Linked DNA regions of Homo sapiens: region 1 is linked to region 2. The links are contacts of gene promoters, found by promoter capture Hi-C in blood cells and fetal thymus (Javierre and others, 2016). All regions are on one chromosome and are shown on one strand. Each heading gives the region's core, a stretch centred on a gene start or on the middle of the fragment in contact. The rest is flanking DNA. Distances are from core to core; before and after follow the strand shown. Region 1 holds the start of BET1 (Bet1 golgi vesicular membrane trafficking protein). Region 2 holds the start of SAMD9 (sterile alpha motif domain containing 9).

What was found. Contacts are between HindIII fragments. The CHiCAGO score rates a contact against its expected background, and 5 or more counts as called.
Region 1: the fragment with the promoter of BET1 here is called in contact with the fragment with the promoter of SAMD9 in region 2 in 5 of 17 cell types (non-activated CD4 T cells, total CD8 T cells, naive CD4 T cells and 2 more); the score reaches 10.4 in non-activated CD4 T cells.

Annotation. Positions count from the first base shown.
Region 1 is chr7:94,001,189-94,006,741 of GRCh38, reverse strand. It overlaps BET1 (Bet1 golgi vesicular membrane trafficking protein), which reads left to right and starts at 2,387. Exons shown (of 4, transcript NM_005868.6): 1 at 2,387-2,544. The coding sequence starts at 2,526. RefSeq lists enhancers at 1,821-2,450, 2,461-2,510, 1,965-2,570, 2,571-3,177. The HindIII fragment of the contact is 1,547 bases long and covers 1,710-3,256 here.
Region 2 is chr7:93,115,162-93,120,963 of GRCh38, reverse strand. SAMD9 (sterile alpha motif domain containing 9) reads left to right here and starts at 2,985. Exons shown (of 3, transcript NM_017654.4): 1 at 2,985-3,101. The HindIII fragment of the contact is 4,352 bases long and covers 1-3,191 here.

The DNA of each region.
Region 1 (5,553 bases), core at 1,138-3,637, 890 kb before region 2:
GGTATTTCTGCTGTCCTATGGGTTACACAGACTTTGATTGGCCAGCATAGTAACTCTAACAGCCATGTGTTTTCTGGGCTGAGTTGGGAACCTGACCATCATTTCAGTCTTCAGGGAAAATGTGCTTTAAATACCAAACAACAAACTTAGAAACAAACTTTGTCCCATAGCTTGTTTGTAAATCAAGAGCTTTTTGTTTCTAGTTTACATTTTGTGACAGTTCAAATATGATACCCGAGATACTGAATTTGCTTCATGATTGAAAAATGTGTTAATGTTTATTGAACCAGTTTTGAGAGCTTGGTATGCTCTTTTCCCTTGGATTGGACTTGAAATTTGGTCAGGAAGAGGTAGGACAAATGGGCAGGCAGGAAGCAGACAGATAGGAGAAAGAAAAGTTCCAATTTTGCACCTCGATTCAGACATTTCCTGCTTTTATTCTTGCTTTTGTAATTACTAGAAGGAATACTTAATATTATTTTAAGTAATTTTTAGTCCTTTATCTCCTAGAGACCTACAAACATTAGATGTTTTCTGTGAGACTATCCTGTGAGAATAGAGAAGAGGTTCTAAATGCTATTCATCTCTGTGAAATTTATTTGCTTTCAATCAGTAAGAAAAGTTAAGGATTTTAATTTAAAAAGGAAAAAGCACAACGAGAAAAGTGAAAATGATTCCCTCTGATCGCTAATGTCAACTATGGTCACATTTAATAATTCTTTTTCTGCACATTGAGTTCATTTTTCCTGCCTCTTCCTTTGAGTGCAAATTTTTTTCAGATGACATTATCCTAATTTGATACTAGCAACGTTAGCTAAAAACAATAATTGGATTTTTTAGGTAACAACTTCAATATGAACTAGCTTTGCCTTACTTCAGTTATATTCTTAGTACATTATATATGTTTTCCTTTTAACTACATTTCATTCTTATGTCTTCCTACCATGTAAAGGAAGCAGTATATTTTATGTAATCTAAATGATTAGTTCTAGTAAATATTACCATATTTTCAAAAATAACGATTTCTACATTTCCATCAGCAAGCCTTCTGTAAGGCAATTTTTAAACGTTTTAATTATAGAACATGCATTTTTTTAACCAAAGGACTGTCACAGATTTTAAGTTATAAAGGGATACCTAGCTATCATTTCTTTTATTGAATCTCCATCTTTTATTTGTAATAATTGTCCCTGATATTATGCTTATTTAATTTCATTGCTTTTAGAAAATGGCGGTTTTATTTTAATGATTTTTTTCTATCAAAACACTATTGGATAAAGCCTCCTTCCCAGGTTAATAACTCTTATTAAAAATTGTTTTCATGTGTTTTTTACAAAAGCAACTTAACGCAGAGACTTATGCCAGTATTATAGTCAATGTTAATAATGTCCTGGGAAACTATGAGGAAACGCTAAATGATCAAAGATCACATATTCGGAAATCTCTAGTGTGGAGACGATTCCACTGCCATATATACAGCAGCAACAACAAAACCGCAGACACCCAGTGAATTTTGATCACCTACTGTGTATCAGGTTTTTTTGTTTTCCCTTCAAAAACCACGATTTCATCGTATTCTCACGATAAATCCTCTGAGATAAAATGAAATTCTAGGATTAACCTCGATACCAGTAACACCTCCAACTCGCCAACAAGTTTTAAACCCCTAATTGGCACACTGCCTTGTGTAAGCAGTATTTCAATAAGCTTTGTGTAAGTTAAAAAAAAAAAAGTGGGAGAGCGTTTAGGGGTCCTTTGGTCCCCATAACAACTAAAAGTCTTGGTTCTTTCTAGAAGTACAACAGATGCAGTAACAGGGAACTAACTATTCAGTGCCTCTGACCAGATCCCGCAGCCTTTCCTAGTCTGCTCTCATCTGAGCAGGAGTCCTACTCAAAGGAACCTGGTTTTCTTTCCTTTACTGGATACTACAAGGCACAAATCGGTTACTTCTGTGGGTGTCGGATTACTTGTTTGTAAACTGAGAAACCTGGACAAAGTTTTCTCTAACTTTCCCTGAATCGTCTCTGGAGGTGAGAGGGAGTTCGAGGCTAAATCAGGAAAGATACCCCAACCATCCTCTTGTGGGTGGGGAGGAGCAGATCTGCTGGGTTAAACTTGGTGGTCAACAAACTGAAAGCAGCGACCCGCGGGCTGCGAGCGGAACAGCGGGAACGTTGGATCAGAGACCCAGAATCAGAGCCGCAGTCGAAGCCGCCCCCTTTTCCGGACGCCCCGTCCGCTCCTGGAACCGGGTTCACATCACGCCCTCAGCAACACGTTATGCGTTGGTGAACTACATTTCCCAGAATGCCTTTCAACCTTCTTCCCAGGGCTCCAATGAGCGCCGTGGTGACGCCATCATCCGGCGCGGTGTTTAGACTCCACTGATGTCGTGGCGCTTTAGGGGAAGAAGTTGGTGTTTCGCTGGGCCCTGGTACTGAAGACGCGGTCCGGGTCGCCCCTAGCTGTTTCCTACTCACCCAAAGCCCCGCACCCGCCTTTTCTCTCTCTCCTCTGGCAGGATGAGGCGTGCAGGCCTGGGTAAGAAGAGGGCTGAGGTTCGAAGTTCGGGGCCCTAGAACCGGGAGCGCTGGGGCGCGGGAGGAAATCGAACCTGTCTTATGTTCCTGGCATTTGGTCCAAAAAACAGGATGTCTAGAGGGGATCTTTGGGGTCCATGTCGAGTGGAAACACACCATTTGTCCCAGATCTTTGGAATTTCCTTAAGTTTGAGTCAGATTCAAGTTTGGATGGTAGGCTAGAGAAAGTAGTGGACTAGGGGTGGGTGTGTACAGGTGGCATCTCAGTGGTCGAGTGTTTTAGTGTTATTGACTGAGCGTGGTTATGGACGCTGCTATGTTTTCCAAAGCCCGACTCCGGTTTCTGTTTCCCTACTGGCCCTGGATCTTAGTTTCTTCAGAAGCGGAATTTGAAGAGTGGGTGGTTGCACCCAAAGCACGCTAGTAATGGTCGTTAATCTGGTAACAGTGAGTTACAAAGGTAAATGTATGTGTCATTATTGTTAAAGGTCCTGGAACTGGAACTTCTGGGTCAAAGGCGATTTCTTAATCTGAACCTTGTGCCACGGTTAAGGCAGTAGAACGTGGTTAAGGTTTGGCGACTTAACATTTGATCTTTACCTTTGGGGTTAGGAAACTGGCTCATCAGCAAGAATAAGTTAGACACAAGGAATTTTAATGGACCCTTATAGTAACGCACAGCTACTAGAACGGCATTTTCTGGTTCTGAAGCTTTCTCTTAGGACACGATTTTTTTTTTAAAGAAGACCCCGCTAAATTAGAGTGCAGTATACTTCAGAAAATAAATGAAACATTTGAAAAAAGATATTACCTTTCTCAGTCATTATAAGATTGAAAAAAGAAAAAAAAAATCCCCAAAGTGTCAGATATTTAAAGTCAGTGAAAGTTGCCAATAACCGTAGACTTGTTTATTGATCAATAAATTGTAGTATGAGAAAGTTTTTTGTTTTTTTAATGAAGTTTTTATGAATACTTAGATCATAGAAAATGGGGCCAGGTAAATTGAAGAGAAAAAAAAAAGAAATAATTTTGAGCAAGTTTAGCTTTATATGTCTAAATGTTTTTCTTGTTCATCATCCTTAATACCAAAAAAGATTTATTGTGTGCTTGAGTAAGCTCTAGGTATACAGTTGTTTGTTGCCCTGTTTGTGATCCCCAAAGCTTCCAGTCTAGGTGGGGAGTAGGAATATGTGCAAAGATAAATTGTAGTACAAAGTGTCGCTATACATCCAAATACCAGATAAGTTCTACATATAAGGGATGGTCTCAGAGATTTCAGAGATAGATCACTGTGTACTTTGTGGGGAAGATCTTTGTGTATTTGGTGGAGACATAGGAATTTGAAGTAGACCTTGAATAATGGAGAGTGGGGGAAGTGAGTTCCAGATAGGAGGAACTCAAAAGAAGTAAGGGATTATGATTAAGCCAGTTTGGGTGAAGTAGGGGATTCGGGATCACACTGTGGAGATCTTTGCATGCGAGGCCAAAGAGTTTGGATTTCATCAGTAGGCCCCTAGGCCCTTTTGAGTATTTTCCTGCTGCAGTGTGCCATGTTAAATTGCAGGAAAGTGACTTGAGTAATGGTTCTCAGCCCTGACTGTACATTAGAATCCCTTGGGAAGTTTTTAAAGTATTGTTACCTGGACCTCAGCTCAGCCAGTAAAATTAGAATTTCTCCAATTTAGAGCCCACTACCTTCTCCTTTTTTCCTTTTTTTTTCTTTCTTTTTTTTTTTTTTTTAAAAAAAAGCTCTTCTGTGATTGAGAGGAGAAGTAATTACCTAGGTAACTACTATTGCTATAATTTACATTGGTGTGAAGTGACAAAGGCTTTTGTTACACATTTTTTCTTTTCTTTTTTTTTAAAGTATGAATGCATATTGACCTGAAATTTTAAATTTGGGATCATAGTGAATCTGATACATATCCATAGGCAGAAGCTGCCACACTTCACATGAATCTCTAAATGGTTTTGTTAGCTTACTGATAGAACCTATCCAAAAAAGTAGCGTTTATCTAAATAAACAAAGGCTGAGGATGATCTTCAGTACTCACTAGCTTTTTTACAACTTTTCATAGCAGTACACCACCAGAAGAGAAGTGGCTTTGTTTGGAATAGCAATTCTAGCATTTTATTTGGTTTTTACTTTTGTCATTGTATTTGGGATGGGTCATAGTTTGAGGGAAGATCAACTCTTTAATAGGAATGTGCATTGATATATTTCTGGACGATAAATACAACAAGAATTTCACTTTGAATAAATGGAACAGCATGGAAGAACTCTAAAATTAAAATTAAGATAGGCAAAAGCAACTAAACAAAGGAAAGAAAAAATAGCAGTTAATTTATAATGAATTCCTTGGTGAAGTTGTCAAATGTTTGAATTCAACCAGTCAGTAATTACTTATTGGGTAAATGTTATATACTCAGAACCTCAGCCACACAAAATAAGAAGACATTCTTTCTTTAAGTATCTTGGCCCTTATTAAACTACAGTTTGCACAGAGTATCATTGGTTAACAGAGTAAGAATGCATTTTTAAATGGTGATTTTAATATTTGACTGAGCGGAAAAATATGCCCACTCCTTGAGTTCTTTTATAATAAAACATGTGGAGAGCTTCATGGATAGTGTGTCATGGATAGTGTGTCAGCAGCAAAATTCAGATAGTACAACTCTCTTCTGTTTGGAAAATACTTCTTCAATATTTTGTTGTGGTTTTTGTGGTGGTGGAGATTGCATAGGTATCTGCTGCATATAAAGTACTCATTAGGTACAGGGAGGATATGGAAGCATGAGATACTGTCTTTGCCTTCAGAGAAGCATATGATTCCATTCTGGACAAAGGTATGCACATTCAAAGTTCAATAACAGTGAACTCAGATTCTTTTCATTAATTAGTTCACATCATGTATTCATTGAGTGTGCCTTACAGTGTGTATGTGTTTGTAGGTTTATGGGGGGACATACAGTGTTGAGTCAAACAAACTTATTCTCTTCCCTTATAGTA
Region 2 (5,802 bases), core at 1,736-4,235:
CAGTGTCTACCCAAATGGCCACCCAGTTTTGTGCTTGAAACCCTGGGCCCTTGTGGTGTAGGCCTCCAAGGGAATCTCCCAGTCTGCAGCTTGTGAAGACCATGGGAAAAGTGTAATATGTGGGTGGGCCAGAATGCACCGTTCCTCATGGCACAGTCCCTCACAGCTTCCCTTGACTACAGGAGGGAGTTCCCCAACCTCTTGTGTTTCCTGGGTGAGGAGATGCCCCACCCAGCTTCAGCTCACCCTCCATGGGCTGCACCCACTGTCTAACCAGTCCCAATGAGATGAGCCCGGTACCTCAGTTGGAAATGCAGAAATCACCCGCCTTTTGCATTGATCTCACTGGGAGCTGCAGATCGAAGCTGTTCCTATTTGGCCATCTTGCCAACCACCTCCAGTGCATTTGTTATTTCTCTAATTGTGTTCTTCATTTCCAGAAATTGTGATTGTTTTTTATGTATGCTATCTATTTCACTGAGGAATTTTCCTTTCATATCCTGTATCATGTTTGTTATTTCTTTAAGTTAGAATTCACCTTTCTCTAGTGCCTTTTTGATTAGCTTAATAATAAACCTTCTGAATTATTTTCCTGGCAATTCAGAGATTTTGTCTTGGTTTGGATATATTGTTGGTGAGCTGGTGTGGTATTTTGGGGGTGTTCAAGAACCTTGTTTTTTCATATTACCAGAATTGTTTTTCTGGTTCCTTCTCATTTGGGTGACTGTGTCAGGGGGAAGATCTGGGACTCAAGGGCTACTATTCAGATTCTTTTGTCCCACAGGGTGCTCCCTTGATGTAGTGTTCTCCCACTTCCTCTAGGGATGGGGCTTCCTGGGAGCCAAACTGCAGTGATTGTTTTTTCTCTTCTGGGCCTAGTCATCTAGCAGAGCTACTGGACTCCAGACTGGTACTGGGAAGTGTCGGCAAAGAGTCCTGTGATGTAATACATCTTCAGGTCTTTCAGCTGTGGATACCAGCACCTGCTCCAGTGGAGGTAGCAGGGGAGTGAAGTGGACTCTGTAAGGGTCCTTGGTTATATCTTCGTTAAATGCTCTGGTTTTGTGTTGGTTGGCCTCCAGCCAGGAGGTGGCATTTTCAAGAGTGCATTAGCTGTGGTACTATAGGGAGGAAGCAAACTTGACCTAGGGTCATCTAGTTATATATTCATGTTTCTGAGGCAGTGGGCAGAATATGTCCTTTGTCTTGCAACCAGGGCAGGTAAAGAAAGACCAACAGGTTGGGGCAGGCATAGGTGTGGCTGAGCTCAGACTCTTATTGGGTGGGGTCTGCTGCACTTGCTGTAGGGGGCGGGGGTGTGGTTCCCAGGCCAATGGAGTTATGTTCCCAGGGGGATTATGGCTGTCTCCACTGAGTGACATAGGACACCAGGGAAGTGGGGAAAAGCCAGCAGTCACAGGCCTCACCCCATTTCCACACAACCCACACTCCTAAAGGCCAGTCTCACTCCCACTGTGCCCCTGCCAACAACATCGAATCTATTTCCAGGCAGTCGGTGACCAGGGCTGAGAACTTGCCCCTGGCTATCAGCCTCCCTGCTGAGAAAGCAAGCAGACTCATGACTTTTCTTTTTGGCATCTCAGAGAAACTGCAGTGGCGATACAGTTCCTTCAAAGGGTCTGTGAATTCTCTTGGCTTTCCTGGTATGTTGCTGCAGTAATTCTTGAAGCAAAAGTTCATGATGTGAGTCTCCACATGCTGTCCTGTCTGTCCCAGCAGGAGCTGCAAGCTAGTCCTGCCTCCTCACCCTCACAGAACCACCAGAATAATGTTTGACCAAATATCTAGGCACTCTGTGGCCCGGTCAAGTTGACCCATAAAATTAACCATCACACTGGTCCCCATGCAAAGTGAAACCCAGGTTTTGGAGTTCAGGCCCAGGGTCCCCTTACGAGGAGGGCTCCTGAGGGTGATAAGTGTAATGGTCATATCTAGGCTGTCCTTCATAGCCACTTTCTTTCTTCCTAAACCTCAGGATTTAAGAGCACTGGCCTGAAACCTGGATTCGAATCTCTGCCATGTATTAGTTATGCAAACTTTAGCCATATTATTTAATCTCTATGCCTCAGTTTCTTCACCTTTAAAATTGAGATAAAAATAATCTCTACCTCAGGAGATTGTTGTGAAGAGTAATTAAGTTAATATGAAACATTTAGAACAATGCCTGGTACATGGTAAGCGCCCAATAAATATTTTAAAATAAATGTTTTTAAATGTTTTCATCTAAAACCAGTGTGAATCAGTTGTGGGATGTGGAAACCAAAAGCTAATTGAGCACACACAATAAATATCAGTACTTGCTGTTAGTTTTTAAAATATCAGCTATTTTTGTTGCTCTCACTCAGGCAGTTTTCTCTCTGGCCCTGACACTGACCTTAGAAAAGATAAATCTCTACAATGTGACCATCAGGTCTGCTGCAGCCCTGGTCTGCTCTGCAATAAATGAATTTAGCACTTATTGGGGTGCTCAAAGAAGTCCTATCCCTGAAAGACATTCTTTACACTTTAGGAAAACAGGAATGGACAGTAACTCCACCCTTAAAGGCCAGTGAAATATTGACCTAGAGTATCTCCAACCTGGTGCTCTACAAGGCTGGGACTGCAATGTAAACTCATATTCCCAAGGGATCAATTAAGCCAGAATATCCCACAGTTTGTCTATAACAAGACAATGGGGCTTTCTGCAGCCCTCAAAACTCTCAAGTGAGGAAAAATTGTTAAGCCTTCAGATTTTAACCAAGCAGACCAGAAGGTGGTATATAGCCATAGCTTATTAAAAAGCATTTCAGATAGAAAAGGCGGTGCTGTAATTTCAGATCTGAGAAATGAAACTGAAACCAAACCTATATTCTTCCTTCCCCAACCTCCCAGTTGTTAAACACGCCCTGCTGTTTCTGAGCCAATTAGAGCTTGCTGTGAGACAGAAGCAGAGAATACATAGACTTCCGTTAAAACCAGAATGAGGAAAATACTTTTCTCTAGCATCGTAGGAGGAAGAAAACAAACACATCAGATATTTTCAGCACTAAAAGAGATGGTTTTCCCCACATATATGTAAAAGAAATTTGCAAGACTACTGGGTAAGTACAATATCTATTATTAATATTGTTCTTACTATCTATAGCAGCATTTTATTGAATAGAAAGAAATATACTTTTCAATTAGAAGCTTCAAATATACCTCAAAACAAAAAATAGTATTCTAAGCCTAGAAATTCTAGACTATTTGTTGCTCTGACAGCAGTCTGCTTTATATTAGTTGAAAAATTAGTCATAACATTTCATTAAAGATGCAGTTGAAAACTACAGACACTTTTATTGATGAACTCTCCCAAGGCATACAGCATCTTCAGAAAGAACAAACAGGCCAGGTGTGGTAGCCTGTAATTTGAGCACTTTGGAAGGCAAGGACAGGAGAATTGTTTGAGGCCAGGAATTCAAAATTAGCTTGGGCAACATAGCAAGACCCTACCTAGCAAGATTCCTACCAAAAAAAAAAATAGCTGGATGTGGTGGCACGCAGCTGCAGTCTAGCTACTTTGGAGGCTGAGGCAGAAGGATTGCTTGAGCCCAGGAATTTAAGGTTACAGTGAGCTGTAATTGTACCACTGCACTCCAGCATAGGCAACAGAGTGAGACACTGTCTCAAAAACAACAACAACAACAACAACAACAACAACAACAAACGGAAAGATAGATAAAGAACAGGCAATGAAAACTTAAAAGTACTTTACTTTAATCAAATACAACTTCCACCATCTACTCTAAGAAATAGGTAGCTTCCAGAAAACAAAACTCTCTGAGAGCTTCTCAGATATTGTTGTCGGATGACATACATAGGAAGACAGACAGACAGATAGACTACTATGGGAAGTCTTTGGAATTAAGGCAGCTTTATGTTCCTGGCAAAAATACTAGGTTTATGTCTAATTTCTCCCCAAAGCAAACAGTAAGATAATGCAAGACGGTTGGAGGATCACATTTCTGAATAAAGGTCTGACCTTCAACTCCCTTCTAGAAAAGTTAACAAACCCTACAGTTTAACACCAACCAGAGTTAAAAAATGTATGTGGGTTCAATCAGTAACAAATAGTGTTTCCTACTAAGATGCTCAGAACCAAATTTTCAGGTCAGTTTTTAAAGTATACGGAATCAAAACCAGTAATTTTAGGTACTAATTTTACTCCCTCATTTCACCTTTTCTCCCCCTACCCTTATTTAGCCTTCCCCATGATTTCTTTACCTAAGGGTTTTAATATATGTGTGATCCTATATTACTTTCTAAATTACCTAAAAAACATTTTGGAACGAGAGGGTATAAAGAAATCATTAATATGTAAAATATCTATGAACAGTGGCATAAATACCTATGAATGCTGGCATATATTTTCTCCAAGAGTGACATCATCAACAATTTTTTTAAAATAATGTATTGAAAGGCACAGCTATCAATAATCTGACAAAAGCTTTAGGGGAAGAAGTGTGAAAGTGTAACCTGTTCAATGACATTTGAAATATTCATAGTGTCTCTAGTAGAGAAAACAGTCAAAAGTCACTTCTTTATTATTTGCTTACTTTCCCAACCAAATGTTCAGGCCCAGTTCTCCATCCCCCACACTCTTATATGAGAACCTGACTTTACGTTTTCACATATAATGGTATGTAGTTCTTGCATGAATCAAATAATCCATCTAATTCACCAGTCTCATAATCTAGTTTATGACATATCACCAGAGACTAAGGACTGTGTCTGTAAAACTGTGAAAGGTCCAAGTTGATGAAGGAAGTCAGGGAGACCCTAGGAAAAGGGTACTGGTGGGAAGCGGCGAGATGGGGGATGAGAGCCATAGGTATGAGGCCTCAGGAGCCAGCGCACGCTAGCAGCACAATAATCGGGGACCCCTGCTTTATGTGTTAAATAGTGTGGGTGCAACAAAAGTGAGCATACTTTCATAGGGTGGAGTAGACGTGACTCAGTAAATGGATACAAGAAAGTGACTCAGATAGAATGGTTACTAGACGAGGGTGTAGTCAGTTTTTAGACAACTCTAAAACCAGTATTGAATCAACACTGAGTGGGATGCAGAAGTCAAAAGTTCATAATCTGAGACTGCAATAATAAACACCTAGTAAAACTTTAGGACCTCACATACCATTGAATTCACAATTATCCTTGATTCATAACACACCATCATCTTTTTTATGCAAGTATCTCTTTTATTTTATTCATCCGTTTTATTTTCTAATGTATTTTGGAGGCATTATTGGCTTTTTAAATACAGTATAACTTGTATACAATGAACAAACTTAAGGGTAAGCCTTTATGAAATTTTAATATGTACTTATCTGTGCAACCGCTAGCCATATCAAGATATAAAATATTTCCATCACCCCTTCCCAGAAAATATCCACCCCCCAACATCAGTCTGACTTCTATGACAGATTACTTTTGCCTATTCTTAAACTATATAAGTAGAATTCTACAATATGTTTTCTGTTGTAACTGGCTTCTTTCACACAGTATGATGTGATATTCATTCATGTTGTTGCCTGTATCAGTACTTTAATAATTTTCATGAGAATTGCAGATCCAAAGAGTAGGTATATATTTAACTTCACAAAAACTGATAGTTTCTTGAAGTGGCTAAAACAATGTACATTCCCACAGACAGCATATGAGAGCTCCACTGACTCCACATCATCACCAACATTTGGCATTAACAGTCTTTAATTTTAGCCATTCTGGTAGGCATGTAGTATTATCTTGTTGTAATTTTACTTT